Regions from separate parts of the Homo sapiens genome. Here region 2 is linked to region 1. Evidence: promoter capture Hi-C in 16 types of primary human blood cells and fetal thymus (Javierre and others, 2016). All regions are on one chromosome and are shown on one strand. Each heading gives the region's core, a stretch centred on a gene start or on the middle of the fragment in contact. The rest is flanking DNA. Distances are from core to core; before and after follow the strand shown. Region 1 holds the start of SYNPO2 (synaptopodin 2). Region 2 overlaps SEC24D (SEC24 homolog D, COPII component).

Region 1 (7,124 bases), core at 3,371-5,870:
TTCTGGCATACCCAGAAAGACATATAGAAGCACTAGAGACCCATGAAGGACTGACTGTCTCTCCCAACACACCTTGTGGTGGTTTTGTCTTCACATTGGCTTTCTCCATTGGCTGCAAATCAGTATCCATGGAGAAGAGGCCTTGCCCTGACGGCAATCCAGAGAAGTCTTGAGCTTCCCTGTGATTGGAGCATACATGAATTAATCACTCAGGCCAAGGAAATCTCCTTGATTTTGGCTCAGGTTTTGTACCTATCTCTGTGTTAAGGAGGAATAATTACTCTGATTGCCTTAGATCAACACTGCTGGGGTGGGAGGATCAATTCTACCTAAACCAATAGCTACTAACCAATGGGAAATAGAATGTTAGGGAGGTGGCCACTACCTATTCCACACGGTCTCTAAGGTGTATAATTGAGGAATTTTGGTCTATTTCAAATGTTCCAAGTCTAATAAAGTAAACAAAAAAATAAATTAGAACTCTTTGTCTCTCTTTTCTATGTCTTTATTCTGGGAACTCTTATTTATTTTTTTTACTCATATTAATTGGGCACCAATCATTCATCAGGAGCTATTAGACTTGGGGATAGAATTCTGAATAAGTCAGCAATGACTCCTAGTCTCACAGGGTTAATAACCTAGCATAGGATTCAGACAACTTAAGAGACCTTTAGACTGAGAGGGAAAGTACAGAGTGATAGTAGCACGTGGAAGGAACACCTAACCTGGACACCAGGAAGGTCGGGAAAGTCCTCCTGGAGAATGTGATCTCTAATCTGAGGCCGGAGGATGAGGAGAAATTATTAGGTGATTTATGTGTGGACAAGGACTGAATAGCTTGGAGAAATGCCTAAGCAGGTGAAACAAAAAAGCAATTTTGAGAAAAGAACAGTACTTCTGTGTGTCTGAATCATCAAATTCAAGGTAGGGGTAGTAAGCAACAAGGTGGAAGAAGTAGGTAGTGGGAGGCAGAAAGTGTTTCCATGTAAAAAAGTTCGGACTTTATCCGGGAGCCCTTGAAGATTTGAACTATAGGAAAAATAACATAGACATTATATTTCAAAATTTCACCCTGGCTTTGGAGTAAAAAATGAATTGAGGGTGGAAACAAGCCTGGAATAGAGACAACAGTTAGGAGACTGTTGAAGTCCAGGTCAGAGATAGACATGGTCCCAGGAGTAGGAAATGAGGGAAGGAGCAGATTTCCAAACTATTTAGAAGTTAGATCCATAGGTCTTTTTTTTTTTTTTTCTTTCTCAGATGGAGTCTTGCTCTATTGCCCAGGCTGGAGTGCAGTGGTACGGTCTCGGCTCACTGCAACCTCTGCCTCCCAGGTTCAAGCAATTCTCTTGCCTCAGCCTCCCGAGTAGCTGGGATTACAGGTGTGCACCACCACGCCCAGCTAATTTTTGTACTTTTGGTAGAGATGGGGTTTCACCATGTTGGCCAGGCTGGTCTTGAGCTCCTGACCTCAAGTGATCCACCCACCTTGCCCACCTTGTCTTCCCCAAATGCTGGGATTACAGGCATGCAGCACTGCGCATAGCCAGATCCATAGGTCTTAATGGATAATTGGTTGCATGAGATAAGCATCAGGGAATACATAAGACCTGGAGGCAGAATAGCAATGATTAAGAATAGGTATTAGGGCAGACAAATTCGGGCAGACAAAAGTTCAAACCCTGGCTCTATCGCTTAGGATTTAAAGCACTGTTAATTATCAGTAAAAGAGAAACACTAATACCTATCTAGCATGGTTGCTTTGAAAATAAATACAACATTATATTTCAAGTTCCTGCACAGAATAAATCTTTGATAAGAGTGGCTACAGAGGCAAGAAGAAAGCCTAGAGCTTGCTGGGCCCAAGAAGCCTAAGGGAGAAATGATTTAAGGAGGACACCATCACTAATTTGAAGCTAGACTTGAGTGGATTGAGGAGCAGAAGGGACATGAAAAAGTAAAAAGAACAAATATGAAAGTGTTTTTTTTCTTTGTTCTCAGAGCTCATTTTTTAAAAATTTTTACTTTAAGTTCTGGGATACATGTGCAGAACATGCAGGTTTGTTACATAGGTATACATGTGCCATGGTTGTTTGCTGCACCTATCAACCCGTCATCTAGGTTTTAAGCCCCGCATGCGTTATGTGTCGTAATGCTCTCCCTCCCTTTGTACCCCACCCTCCGACAGGCCTCAGTGTGTGATGTTTCCCTCCCTGTGTCTATGTGTTCTCATTGTTCAACTCCCACTTATGAGTGAGAACATGTGGTGTTTGGTTTACTGTTCCTGTGCTAGTTTGCTGAGAATGATGGCTTCCAGCTTCATCCATGTCCCCTGCAAAGGACATTAACACATTCTTTTTTTATGGCTGCATAGTATTCCATGGTGTATATGTGCCATATTTTCTTTATCCAGTCTATCACTGATGGACATTTGGGTTGGTTCCAAGTCTTTGCTATTGTAATTAGTGTCAAAGCTCATATTTTATGATGTCTCTTGTAACTATTGTTTAAAGGAAAGACTGGGAAAGTCAATTCGTGTTTCTGAAAAGAATCAAACTTGGGATGAGTATCTGGCCCTCATGACCTTCAAAGGGTCTCTTCCAGTGCCACAATCTCTGATTTCATTGTCCTCACTCCAGTGATGAGTCACAAATAAAATCACTTGATGCCTTTGGCTTCTGGGGAGCATGGGCTGTGTAAAATGTTCATTGTACCACAGGTCCTTGAATAATGCCATTTTATTCAACATTGTTTCATGACAACATTGATGAGAAAAAAAAATGTATTTCCAGCTGGGGCCACTGTTTGTATGGAGTTTGAAAGTTCTCCCCATGTCTGTATAGGTTTTCTCCAGGTCCTCTGGTTTCCTGCCACATCCCAAAGCTGTGCTCATGAGATGAACTGGCATGTCTAAATGGTCCCCATCTGAGTGAGTGTGTGTGTGTGTGTGTGTGTGTGTGTGTGTGTGTGCACCCTCTGATGGGATGGTCAGGGCTGTCCAGGGCTGATTCCTGCCTTGCGCCCTAAGCTGCAGGGAGAGGCTCAAGCCACTGGAGATCCTGAATGGGAATAAGTGGGTTGGAGGAGGAATGAATGTATGGATGCAAATTATTTTCAAAAAAAATTCATAAAATATATGTTAATCACACAAATGCACAGCAATAGATGATGCTGTATGAAATTTCTCAGTGAGCCTGCTATATTTGTGGTGGTTTTGAACTGCATTGTGACAGGAGGTACTCCTTATAATTTTCCTTTTGCAAACATTTATTCCTTGATTGAATCCACCACCACTACAGCTGCCCTCACTCACTGATTCACCAAAAATTGGGTCCATGATTATCTTGTTTTTATTAATCTTTCTTAAATGCATGTGTAGCTGACATTTATTTCCATGTTTAATATTAGAAGTGTTTTAATCTTATTTAAAAGTTTGGTGATGTCTTTGTGACCAGAAATAGACTGTAGTCACTTAACCTTGTTTTTATCAATTAGTCGATGGTAAAATTGGTTTTAAAGTCACAGTTTCCATGAACCTATCTGTGACGTTTTAAGTGAGGACTTACTGTATATAGTGCTTCTTAGTGCTGAAACAGGCAGCGTGTCTGGAAATTTTGTTTGGTACCACAAGTAACACAAACAAACTTTCCCAGGCTCTTCCTTATTTAGTATGTTTTTATGTGGATGAATGTTATGGAAAACAAAAGTATTATAGGAAAATTAAAATGTCCTTTTTGTACATTTTTGGCAGATTGTATTCAGATTTAAAACATTTAAATATTTGGAATATACAAAATCTGCTTTTATATTGGACCACCCAGATTCATGACATGGGATGACAAACTATAAAAATAAGAAACCTGTAGGTGACATTGTACATTTTATGCAGTTGACTAACTGTTGGGTTTGGGTTTAAGAAGATCAGCAGGTAGAAAGAAAACAAAACACGTTAAAATTTAACATACCCAAAACTATGCAATAGATGTAATTATAAGAATGTAGTTTCCAGGAGAAAAATTCATATTCATTTTCTCTCTTTCTCTCTCCCTTTCTGTCTCTTCTCTTCCCCTTTCTCTAAATATATGGTTCAGAAAGGTACTTTTCAGAGCTGGAGGTTTATTAACAAAAAGTTTGTGCTTTCTTTTGTTTCCTCTTATAGGAATAATTCAGCAGAATGCAGACAGAAAAGTAGTAATTTAACTCATTTTAACTCTTTTTTGTCTATTCCATTCATAAATGTGGCAAGTCTCAAAACATTTATTTGAGAGAATCTAATCCTCTAGTAGTTGAATTCCCAACGCTCCTATTTTAGGACGTCATTCATGGCGTGGAGATTAAACCTTCATGTGTCCTTTACTATTTACAGAATTATTAAATGTAAGTTTTTCAATCATACTTATACCATTAACTGCTTGGATTTAATCTGTTAGTGCAAGATAACTTTGGCTCTCCCTTCCGTCCTCCTTTCCCTTATCTCGCCCCACGTGAGGACATTCTCCTGTGTGTGAAGCTGCTTTCCTTTCCTCGAAGGTGGGCCGAGCAAAGGAGAGTGACGCAAGAGTGGGCTGTGTCCTGGATGCTGCGAGCGCCTCTGCCTCCTTGAGAATGAGCCCATTAGCCGCACAAATTCGCAGCAGGCGGCTGGGGCGGCGGCTGGGGCAGCGGCTGCAGCAGCGGCGGACGCTCTGCATTACCCAGTCTTGCGTCCTCGGCAGGCGCCCGAAGCTGAGTGCGCATCCTCTACCGCACCCAAGCTTCGTCTGTCTCGTCAAGCTCTTCATGCTGCCCAACTAAAAGGAAAACATGGGCACAGGGGATTTTATCTGCATTTCCATGACTGGAGGGGCGCCCTGGGGGTTCAGATTGCAAGGTGGCAAGGAGCAGAAGCAGCCCTTACAAGTTGCAAAGGTAGGACCTGAACGAAGTGTCACGGCTCTGTGCTAGGAAGGAAGGAATGAAAGCAACCTGCTGATGGTGTTTTCAGGTTCTGATGCAGAAGTCTAAGTATTATTTGATTTTGCTGCGGATATTAAGATTTTTCTAGGAAGTGAGTTATTTTCTAAGAAACTTTGGAGAGTAATGGGCCACATCCTATGTAATTAACTTGCAATCGATGAGGGGTGGGTGGGAAGAATGCCATATTTATCAGCTGAGGAAAAGGCCTAGTTAACCATGTTCTTCTGACAACAAGCAAGACACTGGGGAGCGTTTCTTCCAGGCAATTTTAGAATGTTCAGTTGAGTTATTGTTTGATGTCACTTCACTTGGCTCTGGCAGAGGAGAAACGCTCAGTTCAGCATAACGACTTTGCTTGGCTATTTTGGGGACTCATATAGAGTGTTGGTAGTGACATTTATTATGCAGCATTCATGAAAAGGCCAATGTTGGGCAATAATTTTAAAAGTATGATGAAGTGTCATAAAATCTATTTAAAAGAATACCCTTTTAAGGATTTGACAAATAAATGCAAAAATCCAATAAATGCTGTATTCCTTCTTATGTACTCTTTTGGTCAAGATCTCAAAAATAAACTTAGAAGATAATCTAAATATATTATGAGTAACTAAGAGGTAACTTTGTAACACATTAATAACTATTTAAAATGCTTTAAGTTTTTATTGCCATTAGATTGCCTGCATTACTGGTTAGCCCAAGGGGATCTGGTATTCTCTAATTGGCATTCAGCTAAAATAAAACTTAAAATGCACAAAACTAAGCAAACTTTTACCTAACCTTATCATCAAATTGCAAATTATAGTATTGTATTGAAGAACATGCAAGAGCATGGGATTAATTTCCTATTTTATGCTTATATTAAAAATGGGTACAGATCTTTATGAAATACATGGGCCATTGCCTTTGTAGTTATTGTTTGTTTCCCTCTGGCTTTTACTCTTTTTTTTTTGTAGTTATTGTTTCCCTCTGCCTTTTACGTTTTTTTTTTTTTAGTGTCCTTTGCGAAGAAAGAAGTTTCTTTGAAACTCCTTTTTGCTTCCAGGCATCATATGTAAATCCTTTCGTAATGTGATGGTGGAATCCTGCCACCTAGTGAAAATTGCAAACATCAAGAATGAACCATAAAACAGTAGATGAAAAGCAGAGTTTTTATTACTGGAAAGTTCCTCCGAGGTCTGCAGTTCAACCCATGAATTTTAGATGAGGAAAGAGCCCAGAGATGTTAAGTAACTTGCCTTAAGTTTTCAGCTTGGAACTGGCAGAGTGATTAAAGGCTCAGAAAGGTGGTTTTGTTGGGTTCCTTTAGGAGTCAATAGCAGGCAACCTCAGATAAAATATGAATGCCCAATTTAGCATATGTAGAATTCATGACACTGAAGCAGATTTGTCCTGAGTCTAGAATAGCAGTTGGCTGGCTCTAGGTATGAGATTTGGGTTCTAATTCCAGCTCTGATCTAACTTGCAGCCTGGCCTTAGGAAAATCTCTCACCCTTCCTGTCTCATCGGTTTCTCTCTCTCTCTCTCTCTCTCTCTCTCTCTCTCTCTGTGTGTGTGTGTGTGTGTGTGTAGGGAGAGAGAGACAAATATTTTAACTTAGGTGGTAAAGAAGTAAGAAAGAAATTGGACTGTGCAGTCTACGAAGCTCTGTCTTGCCCAAGTATTCTACGATCCTGATAGTGTACAGTTTTAGAATCGCTTGCCTACTAATTGAAATATGGGGACAGAGTGGCTGAGTGCTGTTGTTCTCTGGTGGCTCTTTGGCAGCCAGGCCTCAAGAATAGAGTGGGTAGTGGGTTTCTTCTGAGTTCTGCATGTGACGATTTCAATGTGGGACCTCTTTGCGGCGATTCACTGAAGAGCTGAAGCAGATTGCTAGGAAAGGGTGCTGTGGAGATTCTCTGCTAATGGCATCTCTATTTTCAGGATTCAGTAAGGTTGTTAGGCTATGTCAGAATCCAGTCCTACACTCCCCCTAAATCATCCTTCCTAAAATACCCAGCAATACATTTGTGGTTTTCAAAAGATCATTATTAAGGCATCTAGATGTTTGCTTTGCTTTTGTAGTTTGTGATACTATACTTAGAGCTATAGATTTTAAAATATCATTATAAAAGTATCTGGAAGTTTGCCTTAATTTTTGTGTGTTTGTGTGTGCAAGAGAGAGAGAG
Region 2 (4,041 bases), core at 996-3,495, 150 kb before region 1:
TTAAAAAATAAACTTTAGTTAAAAGTTCTTCTTCAACCTAATGCCAGCCTCTCTTCATCCTTTAAAGATGATGCCAATGTTTGGAAACTATGACCATGTATATCTAGTGGTCATAGTTTTTCTTGTTTTAATTCAGTCTCTATGGCTTCTAGTTAGTTTCACTTTAAAGAAAGCCAAATCCTATTCCACTTGCTTAACATCGTATTACGGGCTGAACTGTGGCTCCTCAAATGTCCTAACCCCCTAGTACCTAAGTATTTGGAGATGAGGTATTTAAAGAGGTAAATTAATTAAAATGAGTTCATTAGAGTGCACCCTAATTCACTATGACTGGTGTCCTTATAAGAGGAAAAACTTTGGATATAGGCATGTAACAGAGGGAAGATGATGTGAAGACACAGGGAGAAGAAAACCATCTACAAACCAAGGACAGGGGCCTGGAACAGATCCTTCCCTCTAGGCCCTCAGAAACCTTGATCTTGGAATTCCAGCCTCCAGAACTGTGAGAAAATAAATTTCTGTTGTTTAAGCTGCTTATTCTGTAGTGTTTGTTATAGCAGCCCTAGCAAATTAATATTCATATGGTAGATGTGAATAGGTGCTGAAGCCTAACAGAAGTGAATACCGTTGGAAGTCAGTTTGCTGATGCCTGTGATACTTACCACAAATTTGCTGGACTTGCATGCAATGACACATAATTGTCACTTCATATAAGTAGCAAATATGAATGAGTATGGAGAAACCTCCCAACTGAGTGTTCTAATCTACTGACTTTTGACTTTGGAGAAAGAGTTGAATTTTTTTATGAAGAGACTAACACATTTGATGGTATTTCAGTCTCCCCACTGATCATTGTCGGCAACAAACTAAAATAACGAAAGGTGGGAATACACTTTCAATCACCTGGATTAAGGCTCCACTGTCTTCACTGAGTTTGTCATCGTGCTTGAACTCCACGGTCACTGCCTTGTCACAATCGATGGCAGCCATTTCTACATCGGTGGTGTTGTTCATCAAGATTCCACCAAAGAAATCAGTGGCTCTGAAACCTAAAGATAAGGGAAAAAGGGAAATTTTGCTTGTCTTTATTCTACTGTTATTTTCTTTGTTGGCCTGTTATTAATTTGAAAAAGAAACAATTATTCAAGAGAGACCCGAAGAATTGTATAAATGATAATTACCTGTGCTGGTACGAACCCTCATAATAGCATCAAAGCCTATTTTCTTTTCAATATCATTTCTGAGGTCGTTCAAAAATTGTTGTCTATCCAAGTGCATCTAAAAAATAAAAGTCTAATCAATGTCCACCAGATGGCAGTAAAATACTTAAAATAACGTTCTCATTTTAATCCTGAGTTATAATAATTATTTTTAAAATCCCGATTTAGCATATTTTTTTATTATATATTATGCTTCTTTGGTTAAAGAAAATATAGCATTTTTGGACAGTGTTTCTTAACTTTTGAAACTAAAATCTCATCTATTATTTTCTTTCATTTTAACACTTGGATGAGAAAATCGGTTATTAATTGCAAATGGGAAAATTAAGAGAGCATAAGTGATCCACTCAGTGGCTTAGGGTTAGAGACAAGGTTAAGACCCAATGTATAATACCCGTTTAATGAGGCTAGGGAAAGACCTTGCAATTGGGGCTTTTTAAGTCTGACCACATTCAGAGCTTTGTGAAGCTATGTCAGGGAAAGTAGAAACCCCTTCTCCTAGCCCTGTTAACTACTCTACGATCACCGTATTTCTGAAAACTGTCCACATTCCACAACTAAGCAACATTTATATAATATGCACATGTGCACAATACTGAGCTCAGAGGTCACCCAAGAGAGGAAACAAACTAGCTGAGCTTCTAAAGCTTCTCATCTGTCAGTGAAACTCTTTAGGAAATTCTCACTACTACTTGACACATAGGAGAGACACTGACGCACGCATCTCATCCCTTCCCCCCAGTCCCAAACACGAAGGGAATGAAGGAGGAAAGGAAAGAGGGAGATCATAGACACAATCTTTACAATAATCCCTTTAGTTGCTTACATACAACTGGGTGGTGCCTGCATAGTTCTTGACCATCATTTTTATCTTACAATGTTATTGAATGGAAAAGACTATTAAAATTTGTATTGTTGAAGATAAGAAAGAAATGCTACGGCAGGATTCAGTTTTGCAACAACTGGAGTAAACAAACAACTGAATGGCAGCATAGGCAACATTAACACTCTTTTATTATAAAATATTTTACTGCCTGTTTACATCTTACTGGCTTTTCCTCTGCTGCATTATAACATTTCTTTTTTAGTAACATTGAAAGAATCAGTAATAATTATGGATACACTGAGGTACAAGTAAATATCCTTTTATATCAGAAATGACATGGGGTTGGCAAGTAACTCAAAAACTTAAATAGAAAAAAAAAAGTAATAAGCCTGGATGATTACACCACAGAGCACCCCCTGCCTACACATCACTTGGTAGGCTGCTCTTTGAAGCCAAGTCACTACCATGTAGATGATCACACCAGTACATAGCAAAGGACCTAGCAAGAACCCCAGCACAATTCACATATGCCAGGAATGGAAGATGATAAAGTCCTTTTTGGAAAAGTGGGGGGGGGAAAGCTTCTGATGAAATTTATCCCCCTAACTGGAAAAGGAGCTAAAATTGATTAGCATGGTAGGCTTCATGTACCTCAATACCCAGAATGTGGGTAGAATCAGTAAGGGTCAGAATTCTGTATGATTATTAAAAGTTTATTTTCTAGAGTGTATCTGAAAAAACATACTTTTATCCAGAAGTCTTAGAAAGAGTTGTTAAAGCTTTTTCAATTTTATTTCATTTACAATCTTTGGTCTTATCAAGTCCCTTAGTTTATAAAGAAATATGTAACTAGTCTCTATTCATAATTTTATTGATGATTAATAAAAACAGATGATGACTAACATTTGTCATTTATGTTGGAGAATACACCTTCCCAGTCCATGCCTCCACGCCTGCCCAGGCACACACATTAGAGGTACACCCCTGACCCCTTCTCCTTAGGTGATGGGGAGTGACTCATCTGATTAATAAGTTTGGGAAAAGGAACTGGGTGGGCACAGCCCAGCCTCTTCTGGGTCCTCTCCATAGGAAGGCAGCTTGCCTGCAGGAGGCACATATTTTCTGTCCCTCAATACAGTGTTTTTTTCAAGGCACAGGGGTCCACAGGAGAAACTCAGATCGTGCCCACTCTGTGCCGGGGCGCATAAGTTTGTGAAATTCAGGGGTGAATCAGCAAGCCCACTTGCCTGCAGACTCAGGCCCATTATAGTGCTGACATTTTGATTGTCTCTTGAATATCTCTCTCAATCAGGCTTGGAAAAGAGAAGTGTAATGAATTGATCCCTAAAATCCCAATAATTTAAAACAAATATGCAGTCACTTTTAAAAACATTATCTTAAGTATATTTTACATAAAATATATTTTTCTCCATTATGAAAGCTCACATTGATATTTGACTCTGAGGATGAATGAGCTCATTCTATCACCAAACACTTAGGAAGTATGGAATTGCCGAACCATAAATATATATGGTTCCTATATATATATATACACACACACACACACACACACAGTTGTCTCTCGTTATCTGTGAGGGATTTGATCCAGAACCTCCCACAGATACCAAACTCCACCAGATGCTCAAGTCCCTGACATAAAATGGCATATTTGCATATAACCTACACACATTTTACGTGTCCCTTAAATCACCTGTAGGTTACTTATTTTTAAATTTTTTGTAGAGACAGGGTCTTGCTATGTAGCCCAGGCTGATTTTGAACTCCCGCCCTCACGTGATCTTCCCACCTCAACCTCTCAAAGCACTGGGATTACAGGCATTGGGCCACTGTGCCCTGCCTATGTTACTTGTAATACCCAATACAATGTGAACGTTATGTAAATAATTGTTATCCTATAGGGGATAATGACAAGAAAAAAGTCTGTACATATTCAGTATAATGCAATATTTGGTTCTGAGTATTTTTGATCCGAGG

Evidence for each region. The method cuts DNA at HindIII sites, captures the fragments that hold promoters and counts their contacts. A CHiCAGO score of 5 or more calls a contact.
Region 2: a fragment that was not itself captured here is called in contact with the fragment with the promoter of SYNPO2 in region 1 in 1 of 17 cell types (total B cells); the score reaches 10.2 in total B cells.

What each region holds. Positions count from the first base shown.
Region 1 is chr4:118,884,234-118,891,357 of GRCh38, forward strand. SYNPO2 (synaptopodin 2) reads left to right here and starts at 4,621. Exons shown (of 5, transcript NM_133477.3): 1 at 4,621-4,908. The coding sequence starts at 4,804. It overlaps LOC105377393 (a long non-coding RNA gene), which reads left to right. Exons shown (of 3, transcript XR_939119.2): 3 at 1-551. The HindIII fragment of the contact is 15,302 bases long and covers 1-4,752 here.
Region 2 is chr4:118,739,760-118,743,800 of GRCh38, forward strand. SEC24D (SEC24 homolog D, COPII component) reads right to left here. Exons shown (of 23, transcript NM_014822.4): 16 at 1,182-1,278; 17 at 904-1,049. Among named protein-coding and RNA genes, the nearest start is that of METTL14, 56 kb to the left of the region's middle. The HindIII fragment of the contact is 760 bases long and covers 1,866-2,625 here.